Linked DNA regions of Homo sapiens: regions 1 and 3 are each linked to region 2. Evidence: promoter capture Hi-C in human tissues and cell types (Jung and others, 2019). All regions are on one chromosome and are shown on one strand. Each heading gives the region's core, a stretch centred on a gene start or on the middle of the fragment in contact. The rest is flanking DNA. Distances are from core to core; before and after follow the strand shown.

Region 1 (2,894 bases), core at 364-2,863, 1.7 Mb before region 2:
TCACATGATAACCCCAAAGAAATGCCTACCTGTCCACATGCCCAGCTCACACAGGAGGCCTCCAACCAGCCTGTTTTTGTTGTTTGTTTGTTTTTTGAGACTGAGCCTCGCTCTGTCGCCCAGGCTGGAGTGTAGTGGTACAATCTCGGCTCACTGCAACCTCTGCCGCCTGGGTTCAAGCGATTCTCCTGTCTCAGCCTCTCGAGTAGCTGGGATTACAGGCGCCTGCCACCAAGCCTGGCTAAATTTTGTGTTTTTAGTAGAGATGGGGTGTCACCATCTTGGTCAGGCTGGTCTTGAACTCCTGACCTCATGATCCACCCATCTCAGCCTATGCTGGGATTACAGGCGTGAGCCACTGTGCCAGGCCTTTCTTTTTTTTCTTTTTTTTTTTTTGAGACAGGGTCTCACTCTGTTGCCCGGACTGGAGTGCAGTTGTGCAATCTCGGCTCACTGCAACCTCCACCTCCCAGGCTCAAGCCATTCTCCTGCCTCAGCCTCCAGAGTAGCTGGGATTACAGGCACGCACCACTACCAATCAGCCCTTTAATGCACCTCACTCTTAAATAGGAACAAAGATTCTCACACTTTTGAGGAAGCCTCCTGCCTAAAACAGATTGTAAAAAGTAAAAAGGGTAATTCAGAAGAAACAGATAATGCAAGGAATAGAAGAAACATTGTAAAAAATAATAACATGCTGCTTGAGAGAGGAAAAGTGATTGCATACAGGAAATAAAGAATGCTATTAAAAAAGGAACTATGTATAAAGAAAAACACTTTGAATTAAAAAATATAAAGAGAAAAACAAGATAATTTAACAGTCAGATTGGCAGATAGAGTCAAGGTTATCTCCCACGCAGAAAACAGTAACAGAAAAGAAAAATCAGTGAAGGAAAGAAAAGATCAATAAATCCAGTATATCCAACACCCAGGAGCACCAGAATAAGAAAGCAGATTAAGGGAGAGAAAGAAATTACCAAATAACTATATAAGATAATTGCCCCAAAATGAAGAACAGTACATACTTAGTGCCCAGCACAATGAAGTACAAAAAAAAAAAAAAAAGACCCATAGAGACACACAGCACTATTTCGGGCATCACAGGCGAAAACCCTAACAGTTTCCAGGATCACACAGAAAGAAAGGGCAACGTCACAATGGCATCTAATTTCTCCACAGCAACAGGAAACATCAGAAAGCAGTAATAGCAGAAGTCAGAAGCTTTTATCTTTTAATTCTTAGAGAAAATTATTTCCATGCAGGATTGCTATATGTAGTCAATCAATTTAAATATGAGGGTATATAGTAAAGGTGTTTTGAAACATGCAAGGTCTAAAAAATTTACCTCCCATTCACATTTTCTCAAGAAGCTACTGAAAGATGTGCGCAGTCAAAATGGTAAGTGATCTAGGAAACGGGAGATCCACACATGAGGCAAACAGAAGAGTCACAAAAAAAAAAAAAGAGACATCCCAGGAGATGGCTGTACACATCTATCTCCTGCGTTAACAACCACTCCAAATTGTGGTGAAGACTATGGAAATCCAGAAGGGATGTCTCTTAAGAAAAAATACTGGAGCTGAAAAACTTCTCTGGCAGGTATGACCGCATGAAGACTGCACTGCCCAGTTGTTGGAGGGCACAGGAAGGCCCAGTCAGATGTTCAAAGAAAAGCATGTGAAAAAAAAACGAGGTAATGAACTCCAAGCAAAACTAAGTTATTATAGTATTACAGTATAAGTATAGTATAATGCAATATTTAGCTTAGTGAACAAGAGTTAAGAAGACATAATAACATAAACAGTAATGCAGTCTTAACCAAAACCTGATGGGATTAGATGGGTAGGACATTGAAGAGTGGGAAAGACACAGTGTACAGCAAGCTACAATCCTCATCTAATAGGAAGCCAGTAAATGATGCCAAACTGAGGAATTTAAAAGATAATATATAGCAATGATTGCATGTATATGTACATTTCTAAAGAAATATACATGTAACAAGACAATTTCATTTGATTTTCATCATCTATAAATTCATCATACATTCCTAAATTTTGTCTATTTTTGAAAACTTAGATGACCTGGGTTACAGTTTATCCTAGGAGAAAAGGATATATGTGCCTTAACTCCTTTTTGTTTCTGAATGCTTAATTCTATATACTCGATGTGAAGAACGGCAGAGACTCTCCATTGCCTGATCCAGCTACCTAGGTGGTTAATAATCCCCTATGCTCTACTTCACTACCACCCCTCAAAAGAAAGACATCAATCATCCATCCTGCCCACAGGTCATGTGGACCTGGAGCAATCTTAGAGGAAGAGACTAAGTCAGTGCTTTCTAACAGTCACACCAGCACTGCTCACCCTCAGAAGTAGACAAGGGAGGACAGTGGCTACAAGTCTCAAGAAATGAAATACCTTTCCAGTTTTTGCTAAGTCATGAGTTAAACCAACAAAAACAGTGGCTTCACTTACCTGCCATGATTACACAGATGTTTATGCTACAATGTAAACAACAAAATAAACACTAACTAGATTTATCATGAAATTGTTTCTTCCAACAAGTGAAAATGACTTAATTTCTGTGACCCTCCCTAAAATAATAAAAGATTTTCCCTAAAAATATAAACCAGTATCTGTGTATTCTTCTGTATGTCAAGGGCTCTTCACTGCCTCAGGCTGAAATCTGAGCTCCTGGGTACATTGAAAGCTGCCAGCCTTTCCCCAGACTGCCGGGTTCCGGGCTGCTGCACGGGTCCCTCCACTGTCTCAAAGGCCGTCCCTCCACTCCAGGGATCCCTGCTCAGGCTCCTGCAGATCCTCAGCCACAACAGTGCAGGCGATTTTACACGGCACTGTCTACGAGTAGCCCTGCCACTAAACCGGACTCCTCC
Region 2 (3,236 bases), core at 288-2,787:
AAATTTAAAGTGATTTGACCTAATCCTAAAATAATGTTCTTCTTCTGTCCCAGCCTTAGGAAATTAACAGTATCAGCTATGAATATACGAATGTACTGACCAAGCATCTTCAGTGTGATGTCTAGTCCGTTTGATAATTATGGTTTATTATGAATTACTATATTTGTATGCATGTTCTATTTCTCAGTCTTTTAATAATATTACTAGCAGCATTTATCAAGTGCCTTCTGAGTTTGTTTAGATTGAGAGCCTCTCTGAGGTCCTGTCTTCTCTCTGAGGGACGGGAGTTGCTCAGGACCTGCAGCGCTGGGGTCCAGACCCTGGCAGTTGCCAATGTGCTGCCACACCCATGGCCCGGCTGGGCAGCCTCGAAGCTGCCTCAGGCAGCTCCTGCCACATCCACAAACCCAAGCGGGAGCACAGCCCGGGACAGGAAACACAGGGCACGTCCAGATGCTGCTGCTTCACAGACACCAAGGGCGTGGTTTGTGGAAAAGGCCTAGTTTTAGGAAGGTCTTTTCCCTCTGATCATCCAGGAACTCCAGATTAAATGTAACAGAAAACCTTTATACAACAATTGTCAGTTCTTGTTCCATTTGTGCTTTCTTGAGGATTACACGTGCATCTCCCTGAAATTGTTTAATCTCTTGGGACCAAGAGACACTGACTCATCTTGTTGTTGTTATTACTAATAGGTGTAATTTACATACATACATATGTACATTTACATAATTTACACAGTAAAAAAACTCTTCATCCCCCTCACCACATTTCTTAGTCTTATTTCTCTTGTGATCTGAGTTTGCTGTCATTCTCTTGGCCTCAGTTCTTCCTACCACATCTGCTCTGAGAGGAAACACTATGTGACTGTTTAAAATCTGTTCTTTTTTTATGATCCCAAGAAGAAAGAGAAAAAAACAAAGATCTGTAGGAAGAAAAAAGGGTGAGGACAGAACTTCTGCAGAAATAAATATTGTTACAATAACACAAATTGTAAACTTTAGGATAGGTACTGACCGTGTAGTTGATCTTTATTGAACCAGTTGGTTTGAAATACTTAGAATGCTGTCAGCTTTAAGGTTTTACAGTGGAAATTCTTTCCTTAAATTGGCTTTTGGACATGGATCACAGGTAGAGTGAACCAATTCCAGAAAATGTGATCTACATTCACATTTGTCAGTATTTTCTTTTTCTATGACATGCATAATTATCATATCACAGGCATCAGTGACTTGCTGCCTCTACCTGGGATTCTCCTTACCTGGGAAAGTTGTAACCTCGAGGCCCGTGATGTCCTAAAGTGGACTGTCATTAGCTTGGTGGAGGTACTTGAAGAGCAAGCAGACACTGGAGGGTGGGGAAACCAAGCATCCGGAGGCACTCATCTTGCTCCGTTGTTTTACCCGACAGTGAAGTGGCTCTCCCAAGCCCCTGTCCTCCTGCGTTCCATTTTGTGGTGCCTATAGCCTGCAAGATGCCATATGCTTCCTGTTCCCAACCACCCAGGTCTGCCCGTGATCATCCCACTTCGAACTTTGAATCCTTCTTATATGTTGTTCTTTAAAGTCTTACTGATTATTCCCTGTGGTCTTTTTTTTTTTTTTCACTAGCCCTTCTGTTGTCTTAAGTTATGGCTGTGTCTTGGCTATTTACATAGTAACTTCCTCATCATTTTTTCATCTCCACTATCTTGTCCTCTAATGGTCTTGAACACCGTGAGAGTGTTGAATGAAGACCCTTTTGTAGACAGTGGCCAGCATTGTTTCTGTGTCTGTGCATGTGGTCGTGACTTAGCTTTTGGGCATATGATAATCATCAGGAACTGAGTTGTACGTCTCTTCAGTGTCCTCTGTATATCATGTTGATTACAGTTCTCAGTTGTAATATCTAATATCTAAGATTTAAGATTTAATATCTCCTTAGCCCGGGTCCCTTGTGAGTTCCAAGTGCTGCTCTGAGCTGATAACCAGTCACGTCCTAGACACCCTGGCCTGGAAACTAGGACATCTGCCTCGGGCCTGTTATGGCCAAGGCTGCTAACACTGAGAAACAGTCTTAGCTTGTTACAGCGTTGACGTATAGGGTTAGAAAGGCAAATATTTAAATTCATTTTAAATCCTTTCATTTGAAATTTTAGTAGGTCATTTTGGTATACTGATGGACTGAGTTTGGAAAAGGCTGGCGGCATTAAACTAGAATATTTTAAGTACTTCTGATGCCTTTGTACTGATTTCTTTTTTGTAATCAAACCCATTAATAGACTTAAAACTCAAGGAAGAAAAAATAATACTTGTAATTTTAAATAAGCATTCAATTATAAGTAAAAAACATTTTTGTATTCGTTACCATAGTTACCAAGCAGCTTTCCTATAGTTCTAGAAAAAAATGGGCTCCATCATTCAGAGTAATTCTGAAAGGTGCCTTTGGGGGAAAGGGAGAGGAAGGGGTGGTACAGGAGAGGTCCTGGCCGTCCCAGAAGCAGGAGACATAACTGGAAGAGCTTTGTTGACGCTGAGTTTTACAGAATCTCCCACTAAATAGTAACTGCATTTGTGAGGGGAATTCTCTTTTAGCCGTGACATAATATAAGCCAACTTAACAGAGTATTGGAATTGTATTCAAACTTTAGAAGTCGACGCTATAGTTTACATGGGGTACTACTATATTTGTTCAGGGTTTTAAAACTTTATTTAAATCAAGCAAAAGTTAGACACTTCCTGTATTTGCAAATACCAACTATATCTCAAAGGAATGAAATCAGGCAAATAAAGATGAGGCCAAAATTTAAAATCTAAGGAAGCTGAAAGTGGCAGTTTCTGTACTGGAAGAGAGTGCATCTATCTCTGTATTTGTGCTTTTGGTCTTAATAGTTTGTAAGCCTTATGTAGAGTTTTGATAATATTTCATGGTTTTAGGCCTAGGCAGGGATTAGATTTTATCTCAGATTTTGCTAAGAGTATTTCTTCTGGAGACTAGCAGGCTGCTAGTAAGAATTGATAGAATTGGCTCTTTGTCACTGGGAGAACTGGAGTTGAAGGGTTACAGGAGATGAGTCCTGGAGAACGGGAGGCAGGGACAAGGGTGCCAGGAAGCTCAGGGGATGAAAGGGAAATGGAGAGTCCAGTGAGAGAAGGCTGGCGAGGTGTAGAGAGTGGCCAGACACATGCCTGACAGTTGGGACCACTTCTCTATACAAATCAGGAGGAGGCGAGGTAGGCAGGATAGTTCAGAGTTTG
Region 3 (2,854 bases), core at 341-2,840, 1.6 Mb before region 2:
AAAAAGGTAAAACTTTTTATGGAAGTATGAAAATCAAGGCTGAGTTGGTGATTTCAAAATCAGCCAAGTGAATGAAGGACCTATGGAGAGGCTGAGTAAATCAAATTTCAGGCTGAATTTCCAATACGGGGCCCTGAGGCAGTCCTATCTTCACATTCAATCTAGACAGCCCAGGGCACAGGAAACGTCTACTTATTTCACTTCAAATAGTGCACGACCAAAACTGCCTTAATTAAAGCAGAAATGTTAAATGGGAAAATGATTGGAATGTCTATGTTTTAATGCTATAGATAACAGTGCAGCAAATTCATCTTATCAGTGACTAAAATTGTTTTGTATTATCTGTCTCATCACTGCCATCAACTCTCACAGTCCTACTTAAAATTCAGTTAATTTGCACCATGTCAAAAATGTTAGCTTAACCCTCAGATTTCTGAAAATCGAAAGCATTAAATACACAGATTATCTGAACCTCTCAAAATGCATCAAATATCTTTCAATGAGACTTCAGATAGAAAAACAGTTACTCATACAGTGCAAATTATTTAATTTTAACTTCTCCTTATGGTCTATTATTAAATATTCATCCACAGTCCAAATCCATCCTGCTGTGTCCTCTATTTTTGAGCATTAAAAATGTACAACTGAGGGTCTCAACTCCTGCTTCTCACTACCAGTCCCTTAAAGAAACTAAAAATTGGCCAAGTGCGGCGGCTCACGCCTGTAATCCCAGCACTTCGGGAGGCTGAGGCAGGTGGATTGCCTGAGCTCAGGAGTTCAAGACCAGCCTGAGCAACACGGTGAAATCCTGTCTCCACTAAAATACAAAAAATTAGCCAGGCATGGTGGCGGGCACCTGTAATCCCAGCTACTCAGAAGGCTGAGGCAGGAGAACTGCTTGAACCTGTGAGGCAGAGGTTGCAGTGAGCCAAGATCGTGCCACTGCACACTCCACCCTGGGTGACAGAGCAAGACTCCATCTCAAAGAAAAAAAAAAAAATCAAATCTAAGACTTCTGGAAAACAAAAGGGCCAAGCTGCTTCTCATACGCACATCTAACCTGAAGCAATTTTATGTTTTTTGTTTTGTTTTGTTTTCTGAGACAGGGTCTCGCTCTGTCACCCAGACTGGAGTGCAGTGGCACAATCTCAGCTCACTGCAACCTCCACCTCCCGGGTTCAAGTGATTCTCATGTCTCAGCCTCCCAAGTAGCTGGGATTACAGGCACATACCACCACACCCAGCTTATTTTTGTATTTTTTGTAGAGACAGGATTTTGCCTTGTTGGCAAGGCTGGTCTCGAACTCCTGACCTCAAGTGATTCGCCTGCCTCGACCTCCCAAAGTGCTGGGATTACAGGCGTGAGCCGCTGCGCCTGGCCAATTTTATGTTTTTTTAACATCTATCCGGGTATGACCATTTTCATTTCTCACTGAAAGTTTATGCTCTATCAGGGTTATCATCCACATCGAAAACAGCCCTCAACAACTTCTCTAAATAGATTGTCCGAGCATGTTTTCATTTCTAGATGGCATTCCACAACTGCTGTAGCTTGAGTTTCAATTCCAGAAAATAAGACAAGTGCTGTGAAGGCCACAATATATACACCACCATTTTCAAAGAGCTCTTAACCTAACCAGTCTGGTTTTAGTTACTTGGCTTTTAATGCAATTTTTTTACTTGATAAGACTTTCCTCCTCCTTATTCAAAGTAAACTTTTGGATGTACATGTAAGTAGGAGTTATTCTCTCTCTCTCTAAGGAAGAAATACATTGTCTATTTTTAAGAAATGTTTGTATATAGATTCTTCTAAGCATATTGGGTAGCACAATTCAGCTATATTACATGTCAGATAGGCTTTCAGAGGCTGGGCTGGGAATCCAACTGTCCTTTTCAAGATGATCCAAGTTAAAGGACAACTTGCTTATATACTTTTAGTATACTTTAAATATACTTTATCCTTTTTATATTTAGATACTCTGTTATCAGGCTTTCAGAGTATCCCTACACATGCATTTATAGTAAAAGATATCTAATTGTATTTGCTCCTAAATATCAAATTAAGAACACAGTTTATTAGATACATCTTTATGCATATCATATTTTACTACTTTTTTCAGCCCAATTCCTTCAACCGCAAATTGGAAAAACACTTCACAAAAAAAAAAAAAAAAACAACAAAGAAAACCCACCGAAAGAACTATCGAATCTTGTTGATCTAAAATCATTTCTACACATGTGGATTAAACAAGAGCTGATAGAAAACTCTTCCCTCTTTTGAACCATTGTTCGGGAAACAACATTCTCTTACCAGTAACTAAAGAAAACTTTTGAAATCTGTTCTATTTCTCTCGCTCAAACAGGGCAGGGGGTGTTTATTCACGTCTGCAGCTGTGTACCGAATGGCACTGCCCAGCAAGGAAGTAGGGGCTCTGGATTCAGAATGGATTCACAGCCCTGTCCCACCAGGGACCTCGAGTACACTGTGACCTTATTTCTTAGTTTTCTCATTCACTAAAGGAGAAATAAAACCCACCTTGCAATTATTATGAACATTAAATTCATCAGCGCTATAAAGGCTCTCAGAGGTCACAGGGGCTATGGCAGCACCTGGAGCCCAGGGCCCACCTACTCATTGAGAAAAAATGGAACAGCCCAACTGTGCAAAAGTAAAGAATCCATGGCCCGGCCGTAACACACCAACACAGCGGACTACACACGGGCATAGAGAAGACATGTCAGGTAACGTGCCATTTCTTCAATACTGATGCACACAGATCACAGCCATGTGAAACAAGCTCGATAAGGATCGGGGTCAGCCACAGTGGCCTGTAGATAGTTGCTGTCATATCGG

Evidence for each region. The method cuts DNA at HindIII sites, captures the fragments that hold promoters and counts their contacts. A contact is called where the count stands out against the background at its distance.
Region 1: a fragment that was not itself captured here is called in contact with the fragment with the promoter of CLDN20 in region 2 in 1 of the 25 tissues and cell types used here (dorsolateral prefrontal cortex).
Region 3: a fragment that was not itself captured here is called in contact with the fragment with the promoter of CLDN20 in region 2 in 1 of the 25 tissues and cell types used here (dorsolateral prefrontal cortex).

Annotation. Positions count from the first base shown.
Region 1 is chr6:156,980,597-156,983,490 of GRCh38, reverse strand. All of the region lies in intron 4 of ARID1B (AT-rich interaction domain 1B), which reads right to left. Among named protein-coding and RNA genes, the nearest start is that of MIR4466, 200 kb to the right of the region's middle. The HindIII fragment of the contact is 3,613 bases long and covers 1-2,894 here.
Region 2 is chr6:155,262,314-155,265,549 of GRCh38, reverse strand. CLDN20 (claudin 20) reads right to left here and starts at 1,537. Exons shown (of 2, transcript NM_001001346.3): 1 at 1,262-1,537. All of the region lies in intron 5 of TFB1M (transcription factor B1, mitochondrial), which reads left to right. The HindIII fragment of the contact is 11,103 bases long and covers 1-3,236 here.
Region 3 is chr6:156,823,010-156,825,863 of GRCh38, reverse strand. All of the region lies in intron 1 of ARID1B (AT-rich interaction domain 1B), which reads right to left. Among named protein-coding and RNA genes, the nearest start is that of MIR4466, 45 kb to the right of the region's middle. The HindIII fragment of the contact is 7,679 bases long and covers 1-2,854 here.